3 separate regions of the Homo sapiens genome follow, and regions 1 and 3 are each linked to region 2. Evidence: promoter capture Hi-C in 16 types of primary human blood cells and fetal thymus (Javierre and others, 2016). All regions are on one chromosome and are shown on one strand. Each heading gives the region's core, a stretch centred on a gene start or on the middle of the fragment in contact. The rest is flanking DNA. Distances are from core to core; before and after follow the strand shown. Region 1 overlaps CUX1 (cut like homeobox 1). Region 2 holds the start of COL26A1 (collagen type XXVI alpha 1 chain). Region 3 overlaps CUX1 (cut like homeobox 1).

The links. The method cuts DNA at HindIII sites, captures the fragments that hold promoters and counts their contacts. A CHiCAGO score of 5 or more calls a contact.
Region 1: a fragment that was not itself captured here is called in contact with the fragment with the promoter of COL26A1 in region 2 in 4 of 17 cell types (M0 macrophages, naive B cells, fetal thymus and 1 more); the score reaches 7.3 in M0 macrophages.
Region 3: a contact is called between a fragment that was not itself captured here and the fragment with the promoter of COL26A1 in region 2, in 13 of 17 cell types (M0 macrophages, endothelial precursors, total B cells and 10 more). The highest score is 12.3, in M0 macrophages.

What each region holds. Positions count from the first base shown.
Region 1 is chr7:102,238,041-102,242,886 of GRCh38, forward strand. It overlaps CUX1 (cut like homeobox 1), which reads left to right. Exons shown (of 24, transcript NM_181552.4): 23 at 1,280-1,544. LOC124901711 (a long non-coding RNA gene) reads right to left here. Exons shown (of 3, transcript XR_007060458.1): 2 at 4,736-4,846; 3 at 2,512-2,598. Among named protein-coding and RNA genes, the nearest start is that of SH2B2, 46 kb to the right of the region's middle. RefSeq lists a silencer at 2,021-2,090. The HindIII fragment of the contact is 5,463 bases long and covers 1-4,114 here.
Region 2 is chr7:101,360,700-101,365,152 of GRCh38, forward strand. COL26A1 (collagen type XXVI alpha 1 chain) reads left to right here and starts at 2,176. Exons shown (of 13, transcript NM_001278563.3): 1 at 2,176-2,491. The coding sequence starts at 2,334. RefSeq lists a silencer at 3,310-3,549. The HindIII fragment of the contact is 2,872 bases long and covers 1,652-4,453 here.
Region 3 is chr7:102,253,287-102,258,320 of GRCh38, forward strand. It overlaps CUX1 (cut like homeobox 1), which reads left to right. Exons shown (of 24, transcript NM_181552.4): 24 at 1-4,947. Among named protein-coding and RNA genes, the nearest start is that of SH2B2, 31 kb to the right of the region's middle. The HindIII fragment of the contact is 349 bases long and covers 2,336-2,684 here.

The DNA of each region.
Region 1 (4,846 bases), core at 133-2,632, 880 kb after region 2:
ACAGGATGGAACATGAAGGCAGACTAGGAGCGTGACCACTGAAGCACAGCATCACAGGGAGATGGTTAGGCCTCCAGATAACTGCGGGCAAGCCTGACAATGTCAGGCCCTCCACAAGAGGTGGAGGAGCAGAGTCTTCTCTAAACTCCCCCGGGGAAAGGGATACTCCCTTTCCCGGGATACTCCCTTTCCCGGTCTGCTAAGTAGCCTGTGTTTTTCCTTGACACTGAGGCTACCGCTAGACCACGGTCCGCCTGGCAACGGGCGTCTTCCCAGACGCTGGCGTTACCTCTAGACCAAGGAGTCCTCTGGTGGCCCTGTCTGGGCATAACAGAAGGCTCGCACTCTTGTCTTCTGGTCACTCCTCACTGTGTCCCCTCATCTCCTATCTCTGTATGGCCTGGTTTTTCCTAGGTTATGGTTATAGAGCAAGGATTATTATAATATTGGAATAAAGAGTAATTGCTACAAACTAATGATTAATGATATTCATATATAATCATATCTAAGATCTATATCTGGTGTAACTATTCTTGTTTTATATTTTATTATACTAGAACAGCTTGTGTCCTCGGTCTCTTGCCTCGGTACCTGGGTGGCTTGCCGCCCACACCCAGGCCTGGCCGAGGAACTCTTCTCAGTATCCCCATGGTCTCTTGCACTTACTTACCCCCACCCCACTTTTCACTCTGCTGGGAACATCTCTCTGGATACTTCTCTGCCTCCCCTACTAAACTGTTAAGTTGTGCAGGGACAGGTGAGGACCTGACATTCCGTCAGAGCAGGTCCTTGGTGAGCATGTGCTGGTAACAGAATGGCTCTCATCTTAGCGTTGTTTCTTTTGTTTTGTTTTGTTTTGTTTTGTTTGAGACGGAATCTTGCTCTGTTACTCAGGCTGGAGTGCAGTGGCACCATCTCATCTCACTGCAACCTCCACCTCCCAGGTTCATGCAATTCTGCCTCAGCCTCCCTAGTAGCTGGGATTACAGGTGCGTACCACCACGCCCAGCTGATTTTTGTACTTTTAGTAGAGACGGGGTTTCACCATATTGGCCAGGCTGGTCTTGAACTCCTGACATCAAGTGATCTGCCTGCCTCGGCCTCCCAAAGTGCTTGGATTACAGGCATGAGCCACCATGCCCAGCCTCATCTTAGTGTTTTGAGATGCTCTATGCAAAGTCCTGCAAGCCGGCACTGTGCCGTCCCGCTAGCGGGACTGGGGATTTGGGCTGCTGTCCCAGCTGGGCCTGACCTTAGTCTGCCATCTCTTCCTCCGCAGCCTACATGAAGCGGCGGCACAGCTCAGTCAGTGACAGCCAGCCCTGCGAACCGCCCTCTGTCGGCACCGAGTACAGCCAGGGCGCCAGCCCCCAGCCCCAGCACCAGCTGAAGAAACCCCGGGTGGTGCTGGCTCCGGAGGAGAAGGAGGCGCTGAAACGAGCGTATCAGCAAAAGCCATACCCGTCACCAAAAACCATCGAAGACCTCGCCACCCAGCTCAACCTGAAAACCAGCACCGTCATCAACTGGTTCCACAACTACAGGTACGACGGCTGGCTCACAGGGAGCGCCGGTCGGCCCAGGGGAAGGGGCTGATCTGTCCGGAGGCCGCCATGGCGCACAGGGGTGAGGCTGGGGCCGGAGGTGGGGCGCTGGGAGCTCGGTGATTGGTCCGTTCCTTGGTCCCTTAGGGTTTTTTTTTTCTTTTCTTTTCTTTTCTTTTGAGATGGAGTTTCAATCTTGTTGCCCAGGCTAGAGTGCATTGGCGCAATCTCGGCTCACTGCAACCTCCGCCTCCTGGGTTTAAGCAGTTCTCCTGCGTCAGCCTCCCAAGTAGCTGGGATTACAGGCATGCACCACCAAGCCCGGCTAATTTTTGTATTTTTAGTAGAGACGGGGTTTCACTATGTTGGTCAGGCTTGTCTCAAACATCCTGACCTCAGGTGATCTGCCCACCTCGGCCCCGCAAAGTGCTGGGATTACAGGCGTGAGCCACCACGCCTGGCAGTTCCTTAGGTGTTATTGGAGGTTTTAACTGCAGAGATGTAAGGCCACGTCCCTTCCCGTCACTGTCACATAGTTAGAAACAGGTGGTATCTGCCATGACCCAGAAAGAAAATCACCTCTCGATTACATCATTTAATAAGGGAGAGTGTAGGCATTCATGGTTCAAAAGGAGTGAAACTTTTGTGGTTTAGTTTATATATATCTATATTTATAGTTATATTCATATTTATTTATTTTTAGAGACAAGGGCTTGCTCTGTCACCCAGGCTAAAGTGCAGTGGTGCAATCATAGCTTACTGCAGGCTGGAACTCCTGGGCTCAGGCAGTCCTCCCACCTCAGCCTCCTGAGTAGCTAGGATGCCAATGCACCACCATGCCTGCTGATTTTTTATAGAGACAGGGGTCTCGCTCTGTTGCCCAAGCTGGTCTCAAACTCCTGGCCTCAAGCAGTCCTACCACCTCAACCTCCCAAAGCCTTGTGATTATAGACATGAGCCACCACACCTGGCCTGAACTTTTATTTCTTAGTGATTTTGCAGTGCTTTCTCGGGGTCTTCTGCCATGTTATCTTCCAAATTAGTTTGATTAGTTCTGTAATTAAATAAATGAAGTCATTTAAGACCTTTGCATTTGGGAAAGTTCATGAGTTAATGAAGACAGATTGAGCATCTTCTAGATCTCAGATTCTGAGCTAAGTATTTCACCGAGTTATATCACTTAATCCTCACAGCTCACAAATGTATATGAGATACCTTATTCTTGTCATTCCTTTTTTGTTGTTGTTGTTGTTTGAGACGGAGCCTTGCTCTGTCGCCCAGGTTGGAGTGCAGTGGCACGATCTCGGCTCACTGCAGCCTCCTTCTCCCAGGTTCAAGCGACTCTCCTGCCTCAGCCTCCTGAGTGGCTGAGACTACAGGTGTGCACCACCACGCCTGGCTAATTTTTGTATTTTTAGTAGAGACGGGTTTCATCATATTGGCCAGGCTGGTCTCGAACTCCTGACCTCAAGTGATCCGCCTGCCTCGGCCTCCCAAAGTGCTGGGATTACAGGCATGAGCCACCGCACCCAGCCAGTTCTCTTCATTCTACAGATGAAAAATATAGAACTCAGAGGGGCTAAGGAGGTCAGGCCCCAGTGCTGTCTTGGTAGAACAAAGTGCACTGGGATGAAGTGTTTGGAGTAGATGGAGGAAACCCACTGAAGGATCCTGAGTTGCTGATCATAGCTATAACCATACTCTCTGCTGCTAGAAACCAAGAATTCCAGGGCCCTGATGGAGATCCCTAAGCTAGTGCCTTGCCATTGACCATCTCAGGTGCTGCTTCCCATTGTCCCTAGGGCACGATAACATTGGGGTAGGTGCTCCTGGTTCAACCAAGGTCACCCTACGTAGGTCTAGCCGATGGCAGTGGGGCCCTCCCAGCTGTGCACATGACACAGTCATGGGCAGCACAAAGTCACAGTCAGGCTGGAGGGGAAGTTGTGTCTCTCACCGGGCCCTCCCTCCCCCATAAGGTCCACTGGAGTTCCTAAAGGGGCCCAGTAAACCACCCAGGCTCTGAACAAATTGGGAAACTAAAATATTAGGTCAGAGTCCAAATCACACCTTTATTGCCCATAGAGGCAAAGTCACAAGATGCTGCTCATTGTGAGAACTGAGCGCACCTGCTACGTGGACCCTAGACTCAGGCAAACTTCCCCACAATGGCAGCCCTGGCCCCGCACAGGCCTCCCCGTGTTCCAGCTACCTCCCGCAAGGACAAAATCCAGGATTAGCCAGGCGTGGTAACACGCACCTACAGCCCCAGCTACTCAGGAGGCTGAGGTGGGAGGATCACTTGAGGCCAGAAGGCGGAGGTTGCAGTGAGCCGAGATCACACCACTGCACTCCAGTCTGGGTGATAGAGCCAGACCCTGTCTCAAAAAAAGAAAGTCCAGGAGCTGCACAGCCAGTTTCTTCATTCCAAATTTAGCAATCAGATCAAAACAGAGGCAGAGGGAGGCCAGCAGTTAGAACAGTGGAGGTCCCTCTACTTGGAAGGAAACTTCAACAGTAATGAAGCAGAATGAAGGAAATGAACGGAAACGTGGACAGGGGTTTCCTGAAGCTTCTCTTTGCCAGGTGCCATGCTATCCCATTTCCACTTTCTTTCTTTCTTTTTTTTTTTTTTTTTTTTTTCTGAGACAGAGCCTTGCTCTGTCACCCAGGCTGGAGTACAGCAGCACGATCTCGGCTCACTGCAACCTCTGCCTCCTAGGTTCAAGCTTCTCCTGCCTCAGCCTCCTGAGTAGCTGAAATTATAGGCACCCACCACCATGCCCGGCTAATTTTTTGTATTTCTAGTAGAGACTGGGTTTCACCATGTTGGCCAGACTGGTCTCAAACTCTTGACCTCAAGTGATCCACCCACCTCGGCCTCCCAAAGTTCTGGGATTACAGGCGTGAGCCACCACGCCTAGATGCCATCTCTACTTTCTAGCCACAGAGATGCGTGCACTTTGAAGTCTCCTGCAATTCACATCCATTTTAGGGCATGTGTGATAACGCTTTCTATAATATAGACACATGCAAAGCCCTAGGTTACCATCTGGGCATAGATGCTACCAATTATACAAAACAGTTCCAAAAGTATGTTCCCTGGCCCTGCTGGAGCCACGTTTGTTTCCCAAGTCCCCCAACAGGCCTCAGCTGCATGGCAGTCACTGCCCCCTGGCCAGGGTACACACCCTCGGGTTTCTCAGTTTGCTGCTTGTCTTGCTGGTCTTCTGACAGTCATACCCGTCACACTGTAGTCTGCGGTCATTGTGGGGATGCCTCTTTTGTGCATTTTAGCACTA
Region 2 (4,453 bases), core at 926-3,425:
GAAGGACAGGCTCAGTATGTAACCCAGGCTGAAGTGTCATGGCACCATCATGGCTCACTGCAGCCTTGAACCCTTAGGCTCAAGCAATCCTCCTGCCTCAGACTCCTGAGTAGCTGGGACTACAGGCACACACCTCCACGCTTTGCTTTTTTTTTTTTTTTGTAGAGATGGGGGGGTCTCACTATGTTGTCCAAGCTGGCCTCGAACTCCTGGCCTTAAGCAATCCTCCCGCCTCAGCCTCCCAAAGCATTAGGTCTTTGTTGTTTTGTTTTTTGAGACGGAGTCTCACTCTGTCCCCCAGGCTGGAGTGCAGTGGCATGATCTCAGCTCACTGCAACCCCGGGTTCAAGCGATTCCCCTGCCTCAGCCTCCTGAGTAGCTGGGATTACAAGTGCATGCCACTACGCCCAGCTAATTTTTTCTATTTTTTTAGTAGAGACAGGGTTTCACCATGTTAGCCAGGCTGGTCTTGAACTCCTGACCTCAAGTAATCTGCCCACCTCAACTTCCCAAAGTGCTGGGATTACAGGCGTGAGCTACTGTGCCCGGCTTCCAAAGGATTAGGATTACTGAAGTGAGCCATTGCCACTGGCCTCTACAATCCTTTTGCAAAATGTGCTCCAGTCCAGCAAACACTTCCATATTTGATGGTTTTTCTCCATCCTGTAGGCATTTTACAGACAGGAGTTTTCAACTGGTCACAGGGGCAGAGCAAGCCTCAGGGCATCTGCACCCTTAGGTTGCTTTTGGAAGAATTAGGAAAAAAGCTCCCAGGCCGGGCTAGGTGGCTCACACCTGTAATCCCAGCACTTTGGGAGGCGGAGGTGGGTGAATCACCTGAGGTCAGGAGTTCGAAACCAGCCTGGCCAACATGGCGAAACCCCGTCTCTACTAAAAATACAAAAATTAACCCGAAATGGTATTGCTTGCCTGTAATCCCAGCTACTCGGGAGGCTGAGGCAGAAGAATCACTTGAACCCGGGAGGCAGAGGTTGCAGTGAGCCGAGATCGCACCACTGCACTCCAGCCTGGGTGACAGAGCGAGACTCCAACTCAAAAAAAAAAAAAAAAGAAAAAGAAAAAAAAAAAAAGGAACAAAATGCTCCTAACCCGGGCGAGTAGAGTACGGGCTGGATTTCTGGTCCCACCTGGGCCTGGAGCAGGGTCCAAGCCCTATGGGAATCCTGCAACATAGAAAAGACCAAAACTTGGGTCCAGGCTGGCCTTGGGCCCAGCATGGGATCTAGGACTCTGCTTTTCTGTTTATAAAAGGTGGGATTGTCCTACATCTTCCTGAAGCCCTTTTCTGGATAGGATGTCTCATGAATCTGTGATTCTAGCTACAACTTTTTTCTTTTTTTGAGATGGAGCCTCACCTTGTCATCCAGGCTGGAGGCCAGTGGCCTGATATTGGCTCACTGCACCCTCCGCCTCCTGAGTTCAAGTGATTGGCTTGCCTCAGCCCAGCCTGTAGTTGAGATTACAGGCACCTGCCACCACACTAGGCTAATTTTTGTATTTTTAGTAGAGACGAGGTTTCACCATGTTGGCCAGGCTGGTCTCGAACTCCTGACCTCAGGTGATCCGCCCACCTCGGCCTCCCAATCTAGCTACAACTTCTCACCCCAACTGACCCTTCCGCCCCTCCCAAAGCTTCTTACCTGGAAGAGACAGCGGGGCAGGTGGGGGCTGGAGGTTAAAGGGGAAGGAGGAGAATCCTGGGAAGCTCTGGTCAGTTTCTCACGGGAACGCAGCGCTTTGATCCAAAGAGCCCTGCACAAGGATCGGAAGACTCGCATTTGTCTGGCTTAACTTTCTCCAGCCTCAGTTTCCACTTCTGAATGGGACCATCGAGGGCAGTGTGGCGAGGATTCACCAACATCGTCCAGGTGAAATTGGCAGACACAGAATGGGCGCTCCGAAAGCATTCGCGGACCCGAAGAAGGTTTGGTTTCAAAGGTTCTAAGGTGTGTAGCGGGGGCCTGGGCGCGAGGTCTGGCTTTCGGGGTGTTAGGCTCCAGGGACCTCCTGCGGAGCTCGCACCCTAGCTCTGCCGCCACTGCCGCCTCCTCGGCCCCGGACCGCCGAGGGTTAACAAAAAAGCCCCACGCCCCCTTTGACGGCTTAGAGCCCACCTCGCCGAATTTGAAAAGGCGGCCCCGGAGAGGCGTGGGCGCCCCCCACACATTTCCAGCTCGCACCCGGGCTCCGACCGCTCGCCCCGCTCCTCTCGCTGTGCTCCCGGCCGGTGCCGCGGGTTCGGTCCGGGCGCCGGTGCGCTCCTGCCGGTCCTCGTGCCCGGGACTCCGGGTCCCCGCGGGCTGCTGCGCACGATGAAGCTGGCCCTGCTCCTGCCCTGGGCGTGTTGCTGCCTCTGCGGGTCGGCGCTGGCCACCGGCTTCCTCTATCCCTTCTCGGCCGCAGCTCTGCAGCAGCACGGCTACCCCGAGCCCGGCGCCGGCTCCCCTGGCAGCGGCTACGCGAGCCGCCGGTGAGTAGCTCGGGGCCGAGGGGCCGGGGGGTGGGGGGAGGGAGCGGACAGCGGGGGCCCTGGCCACTGGGTGGCTGGAGCGAGGCTTGGGGGCTGGAGAGCGGGGCGATCCGGGACTTGGGGGCGCAGGGCAGCGGGGACTGGGGGCTGCAGACACCGGGCAGCTGGAACGAGAGCTGGAGGGGGTTGGGGTGCGGGGCGATTCGGGCCTGGGGGCGCGGGGTGGCGGATGCCAGGGGCAGGGGACACGGGGCAACTGGGACGAAATGGCGGTGGCTGGGGGTTGGGGTCACGGGGGGAAAGACCGAAGGGCCTTGGGTGCAGGGCGATTGGGGGCTGGGGCGCGGGGCGGCGGGGGTTGGGGGCTGCAGACGGGGCAGCTGGAACGAGCGATGGAGGAGGCTGGGGGTTGGGGCCGCGGGGCTGCGGGGCTGCGGGGTTGCGGGGGCTGAAGGTTCGGGTCCGGCTCCGGGGCTGCGGTGGTCTCTGGCCGCGCCCACCCTGTCCCTTCCTTTCTTCGCTTCCCCAACCTTCGCCCCCTCGTTCCGGGCTCCGAGTAGAGGTGGTTCCGACCGCCGTGGCTGGGGCTGGGGCTCTGCCCGGGGCGTTCGGCCGCTCACGTGGCTCTGCCGCTCACCTGCGCGGCTGCGGCTTTGTGTCGCGGAGCAGGTTCTCGGGTGGCCAAGGCCTCGCGTCCCGGGCACCCCTCTCCTATCAGCGGCCCCAGGACACCAGAGGGGTCATTCCCGCCCAGTCTTTGGGGCTGAGGCCGCGGAGGATCCTCGGCTGCGACTCCCCAGCCACCCCGGGACGTGGAACCGGCTGGGATCGGGTGGCTCCGTGGCGGGGTTGGAGAGGGCGCAGGGTCACCGGGCCCGGGCGCCGGGACCCGCCAGGCGTCTCCTTCCTCTCGGCCGGCAGGTGGCGCCATGGCCACCCCCGGGACGCTCAGGGCTGCGGCTCCGGAGCCCGCATTTGAATTTCCCCAGAAAACCATAAGCATGCAAGTAAAAGTTGCCAAACGCCTCGTTTGCATAACTCGCTTGAATTTAGCTTTTCTCATTTAGTGATAACTACAACCTACACAGCTATGACAGCGCTCTGGAATGCACTACCTGTGTCTGTTCCCTCCGTCTCTTTTTTATATTTTAATTTTTTTTTTTTGCAGAGGCAGAATCTCAACTCTGTTGCCCAGGCTTGTCGCAAACTCCTGGGCTCAAGCGATCCTCCCGCCTTGGCCTCCCAATCTCCATTTCTTTTGATCCTTAACAACCCTAGGGTTAAAACATTAGAGTAGTATCTTTCCTTTAGCTGAAGAAACAGAGGCTCAGGATTTGCTAGGCCTAGGAGCCACTCAGGACTGACCTCTTGTGCTTTCTTTCTTTTTTTTTTTTTTTTAATATAGGGTCTTGCTTGCTCCCCAGGCTGGAATGCAGTGGTGCGATCATAGCTCACTGCAAACCTGATCTCCCAGGCTCAAGTGATCCCCCGACCTTGGCCTCCTGTGTAGCTGAGATCACAGGTGTACACCATCATGACTGGCTAATTTTTTGATTTTTTGTAGAGGTGGGATCTCACTGTGTTACACATGCTGGTCTCAAACTTCTGGCCTCAAGAGATCCTCCTGCCTCGGCCTCCCAAAATGCTGGGATTACAGGCGTGAGCCACCACGCCAGGCCCAGATCTGGTGTTTTCTAGCATACTGCTCTGCCTATCAAAGCTAAAAGACAGCTCCTAGTTCTTTTTTTCTCCTTGATATTTACCAAATCAGAGGACTCCAAGATGATTTCTGGCTAATTCCTTAATAACAAGGAGACAGGGATGTTTCATGCTGGGAAGAAATATACAGTCATGGCTGAATAGGGCGGGACCCAGAAAAGCATAAAAGTGCCTCTGGAAAAGTTTGTATGCAATCCTATTTCTCTCATTTTGTTTGGAAATACTTACCCGGGGCTTCTATGA
Region 3 (5,034 bases), core at 1,260-3,759, 890 kb after region 2:
TCCTTGGCCAGGGCCAGCATCAGGCGTGCAGCTCATGACCAGTTTACACAGGCTGCAAAGAGATCGCTGTGGGCCTCGGCTGACTACTTTAAGATTATGCCACAGCCAGGCCCTAAAAAGAGAGGGGAACAGGAGTCCCCAGGTGAGCTCTCTGACGGGCAGGTGCCTTCCCGACTAAGGTTGGACTGGATGACTTTGTTCCTCCTGCATGCATGTCCTTTGATGCAAGGGTGATCAATGAACTCTGTTGACATTCTATGCAATGTTTTTCATTCCTCTGATTTTAGCAAAGCAAATCTTACTGAAAAATAGCAGAGCCAGGGGAACAGACGCATGTCCTTCTGGGAGTCACACAAAAGCAGAGAGATTTTGAACTGAGGGGCGACAGCCTTTGCCTTAAATGCAGTATGACAGGCGCTTCTTGGCAGACCAGTAAAAACAAAAGCCCATAGACCTTACTCATCCCAAGGCCGACAAGCCAGCTGTACAGGGCGAGATGTAGCAACACGGGGCATGAGCGGTGGGCGTGCTGGGCTATTTGCTGTGGTACTTTAGGCTGGAGGTTTGGCTCCTGTGCTGCCGGTGGGGGGCCCTGTCCCTCCCCAGATGTCCTCCCTCTTCTTCACACTCCTCATTGTCCCTTCTACCTCACTAACCTGTCTTCTCCATCTGATGTCACCCAGAACCACACCCCACAGAACTGTGAGGCACGTGGGCTGGAGAGAGCAGAAAAGCTGCCAGCGCAGCAGACACGAACATCCCTCTGCCTGGTGGGCCGGCTTTGTGTGTCTCTCCTTTTGTGAGCGCAACACGGACAAACAGCTGTGCTCTGCAAGGCACACGGATGTTTCCCTTCCACCTGTTCCCAAAGCTCCAGCAGCTGTTTCTTTTGCAGGCAGGGCGTGGTCTCGGGGCTCCGAGGGTCTTGTCTTTGGTCCGCCTTCCTTTCTGTCCAGTCCTGCTCAGCTGTTAAGATCCATCATGGCCATTATCCTTGTCCCGGACTGCCCCAAAGTTCCCAGCTGGCTTTGGGGAACACTGTAGCTCTTGGGTGTCTCTTGTCTCTGGCATGGTTTTAGCGTCACTGCGAACACTCCTTTGCAAACATCAAACATCTCAAAGACGGAAAAGGATAGATGGCTTCCTCCAGCCTACACGCCCCGTCCACAGTGGCATCACCCTCTTATCCCAAAAGAATATGCCAGTTCCCATCCAGCACCGAAGAAAATCAGCTCCTGGGGCTGGTGGTTGGAGGTGGGTCTGTCCACTGTGGGGGCCAAAGTGTTCCCCTGCTGGAGACAGTTTGCAAGTAAGAACCTAAGGATGGGGACAGCATCCTGTGCTTGGGCATTGACCAGCCAAAGCTCACATTTAGAAAGCCCTCAGTGCTTCTGTGGTTTCACCTGGGCATCGACGACATTAGGGAAGCCTTTGTGACCACAAGGGCAGGGCTTGTGCCCTGAGTGGCGAGGTGGTGACCTGAGGCCAGTGTGATGTGGTTGGATCTCAGCGTGTACTGAATGCCAGTCTGGCCGGCACACTCGAACGCTAAGAGAATGGTCCAATTTGATGATCTTATTTCTATTTCGATCAGGTTTTGACTTTTTGTAGATGAAAACTACCAGGGAAAAGGGGAAGCAGGTACCCAATAAAGTTTAGAAAGATCCAGTCTGTGAAACCCTTAGAGATGGGCTGAAAGTTAAGTCCACCAACCCTTGGGCTTAATCAGGACGGAAGAGGAGGGGGTGTGGGGGGCAGAGCGTAAAACAAGCCCCAGCCCTACTCCCGGCCCCCCAGCCCAGTCTTCCCAATCCCAGAGGCCCCGGCGGCCTGTGCTCCTCACCACCCTGGTCAGGGGAATAGAAGGAAATGCAATTTCCGCCTGTCTGCCCGACTTCCAAAAACTGCCTCCTCCTGCCCAGGCCTCTCCCACCACCACCTTCCCTCCAAAGATAACCGTGTCCATGCCATCCGTGGCATCATCTCGAGTTTTCATTTTTGGATGAAGTGACATTTAGCTTTAACAAGACATTTCCAAAGCGCCTAGTCTCCTCCAAAATGCTAACTTTAAAAGTTGGGCATTGTAGGCGAAAAATCCCAAAAAAAAAAAAAGACAAAAAAAAAAGGCTGGCGAGAGAAAGACATTTGGCTATGCATAAATGTGCACTTCCCCCATGCCCCCGTTCTTAAACTCTTAAGATGCCTTTGAGTTGCTTTTCATGAATCCTTTTAGTTTACCCGATAATGTTAAGAAAGCATTAGTCTACGTTACTGTAATTTCTGTAGTGTTTACGCTTTAATTTCTACCACAAAATATGCTATATGCTATGTATCAAGCTTTCTGTAATCAGAAAGAAAAGGTGCCTTATATCCCAATGTCACGGCTACATCCCTATGGAAATTAATCAGAAGCACAGTGTGTACGGAAGCATTGGGACTTCTGCTGGTGAAACAAGAGACCATTCAGCAAGACACATTGAAGTGGCACGGAGCTGCTTTTGTTTTATAATTCTTTTTTCCCCCCTTTTCCTTCTTCTTTTTTATTATTTTATTATTTTTTTTGTACTTTGCTTTAAACGGAAAGCACTTAAATAGATGACTATGTGTAAAAGCTCTGTGCAATTGAAATCATTTTTCTTCATTTTAAAAAAATAACGTATTGCACACCAAATGAACTCAAAGTAAGCTTTAGACCAGGACGATTCAGGTTATGAATGAGTTTGTTCACTGTAGTTCCGTTTGTTCATGAACCGAAGGGAAAACAGGCCTCCCCGACTCCCTCCAGTCTCCCAGCCTGCCTCTTGGTGACCACTGTGCTGGGCGTGCAGGGCCCGCGGGCTCTGGCCGGAGCCGCTGGCCTGACGAGGCAGGATAGGGAGTATCCGTGATTCAGAAGCTGAGACCCTTCCCCAGTGTCTGAGGCCACAGCCATCCCTTCCAGCACTTAATCTTGTCTTGTTGAAATGGACTGACTGCTACTGACCTGCCGGCGTGCGTGAGGGTGATTATAAAAGGATGTTTCCTTGAGAAAAAAAAAATTATTTCTATCCTCTTCTATTTATTATTAGGTTAATCATTTAAGTACTTATCAGGAGTGTATTGTTATTTTGTGTTTTGTTGTCATAAATGCTTTTTGCTGTCACTCTAGTGGTTACTATCCTCTGCCTTCCTCTCCTCCCCTACTCCCCCAGAGAACCAAGGCGTCTGGGGGATTGACTGGGGGGCAGAGGGGGTTTCCCCAGCAAAATCAAACACCTGTCTCCAGAGTAGCCACTCAAAAACTGGTGGTCTCTATGTGTCTAACTTTTTAAATGAGAGTGTTTATGAACAAAAAAATTTACCAACGTGTGAGGGAGTTGCTGAGTTGAAGAATGCTCGCTTGAGGAGCTTCAGAGGAATCTTAGCAAAGCCAAGTTCAGTTCCCCAAAGCCTCCTAGAGCCTCTGGTAAGACTTCTGGGTTCATGAAGTTTCGGCGAGCCGTGGTCAGAGAGGGCGCGGTGGCCTGGCCAAGACTTTACCTCCAAGCGAGAGAGTGATTTCTTGCAAGGCCCGCATGGGTTGATACGTTTTGGTTGGTTTTTTGTTGTTGTTTTTCTTGCGTACAAAGTTGGTCAAAACCATCTTTCAAAGCAACAGTGTTTTGTAGTACCAGGCTGTGGCTTGAGGGCTCACCTAGGAGATCATAGGCAGAGGGCCCCTTTCCCCTATAGGTGGTTCAACGTGGAGGAAGGTTGGGTGTGGAGATTGCTTGCTGTGGCCCCAAGCTCAGCCAGCAGGACACCCAGTTGTTGCCAATCAGGTGTGAAGGTGAGGCGCCCTGCCTTGATCCCATGGGCCCAGCAGAAGGAAACTTACCCCAGGCCAAGGCAAGGGCCCTGCTCACCCCAAGGTAGGCTGGGAAGAGCATCTCTTTCCATATCATCACCTCCCCTTCTCCAAGATTGCCGGGGGCCCTGATTTTGTTCTCTCTTTGAAAGAAACCCTCCACCGAAACAATGGTCCCCATCTCCCCAGAAGCCTTTTTTTTTTTCATTTTTCTCTAATTAGTCTATGCATTTCTCTCTCTCAAACCATCTTCTGCCTCTTCCCTTGAGAAAACGGGCATCTCACGTACCCCCATCTGAGACCTCTTGGAAAAAAAAAATCCCGTGTATTCTGGAGATGTGAGAATTCACCCAAAATTCTTAAAACATTGGAGAATAGCTTGTTATAAAATAAAAGTGGGGGTAAAAAGAAGGTGGTTTTCCCCACATCCCTTTGCATTGAATAAGAGACCTAGTTCTTTGCGTTTGTGCAATAACTCTTTGCTGCTTGCCTTGAGAGCGGGTAGCACCACGCTCCTGTCCAGACTACTAACAGCACAAGACGCACTCACAGGGTGGCGGAATCTTCCGGAAAACTCTCTATAAGCTCAGCTCCCCCCACCCCACCCCCACTCTAGCGTTTTGTCACGTCTTACATTTTAGCAGTATTTTATATTTTCTGTAACGCACCAAGTCTTAGATCTTTCTAGAGCTTGTTTGTTCATCCTCACAATCACAGATTTTTTTCTCCAATCCTCACAGAGACCCAATTGACCAAAAAAGAAAAAAGGAAAAAAAAAAAGTCGTCTTTTTTTTTTTTTTTTGTACAAATCGCTTTGAGATGCCTCTGGTGTGTTGCTGTGTGACATCTCTCTGGTAACATTTTATTTCTTGCTATTTGTTTTTCTACATTAAGAGTCAAAGTTGACCTGGCTGGCGTGGGGGTGGGGGAGGCACCCGTCGGCCCCTTGGTGTTGTCCCTCTGTCTTTGGTTAGCCATACGATGTTTGTTCTCAGCACTGTACAACGGTCCCTATATAATACGGAGAAGCAATATCACTGTATGAGACTCACACCATGTATTATTATTCACTAGCACCCTAGGTGTGATAATTGAAGTAAATATCTTTTATACAAACACAAGAATGTGTGGGTTGTTTTTATTTAAAGTGCTCTGGCCTGAGGACGAGCAGCAAACACTGTCATTCGAGGTCCAAAGGGCACCTCAAG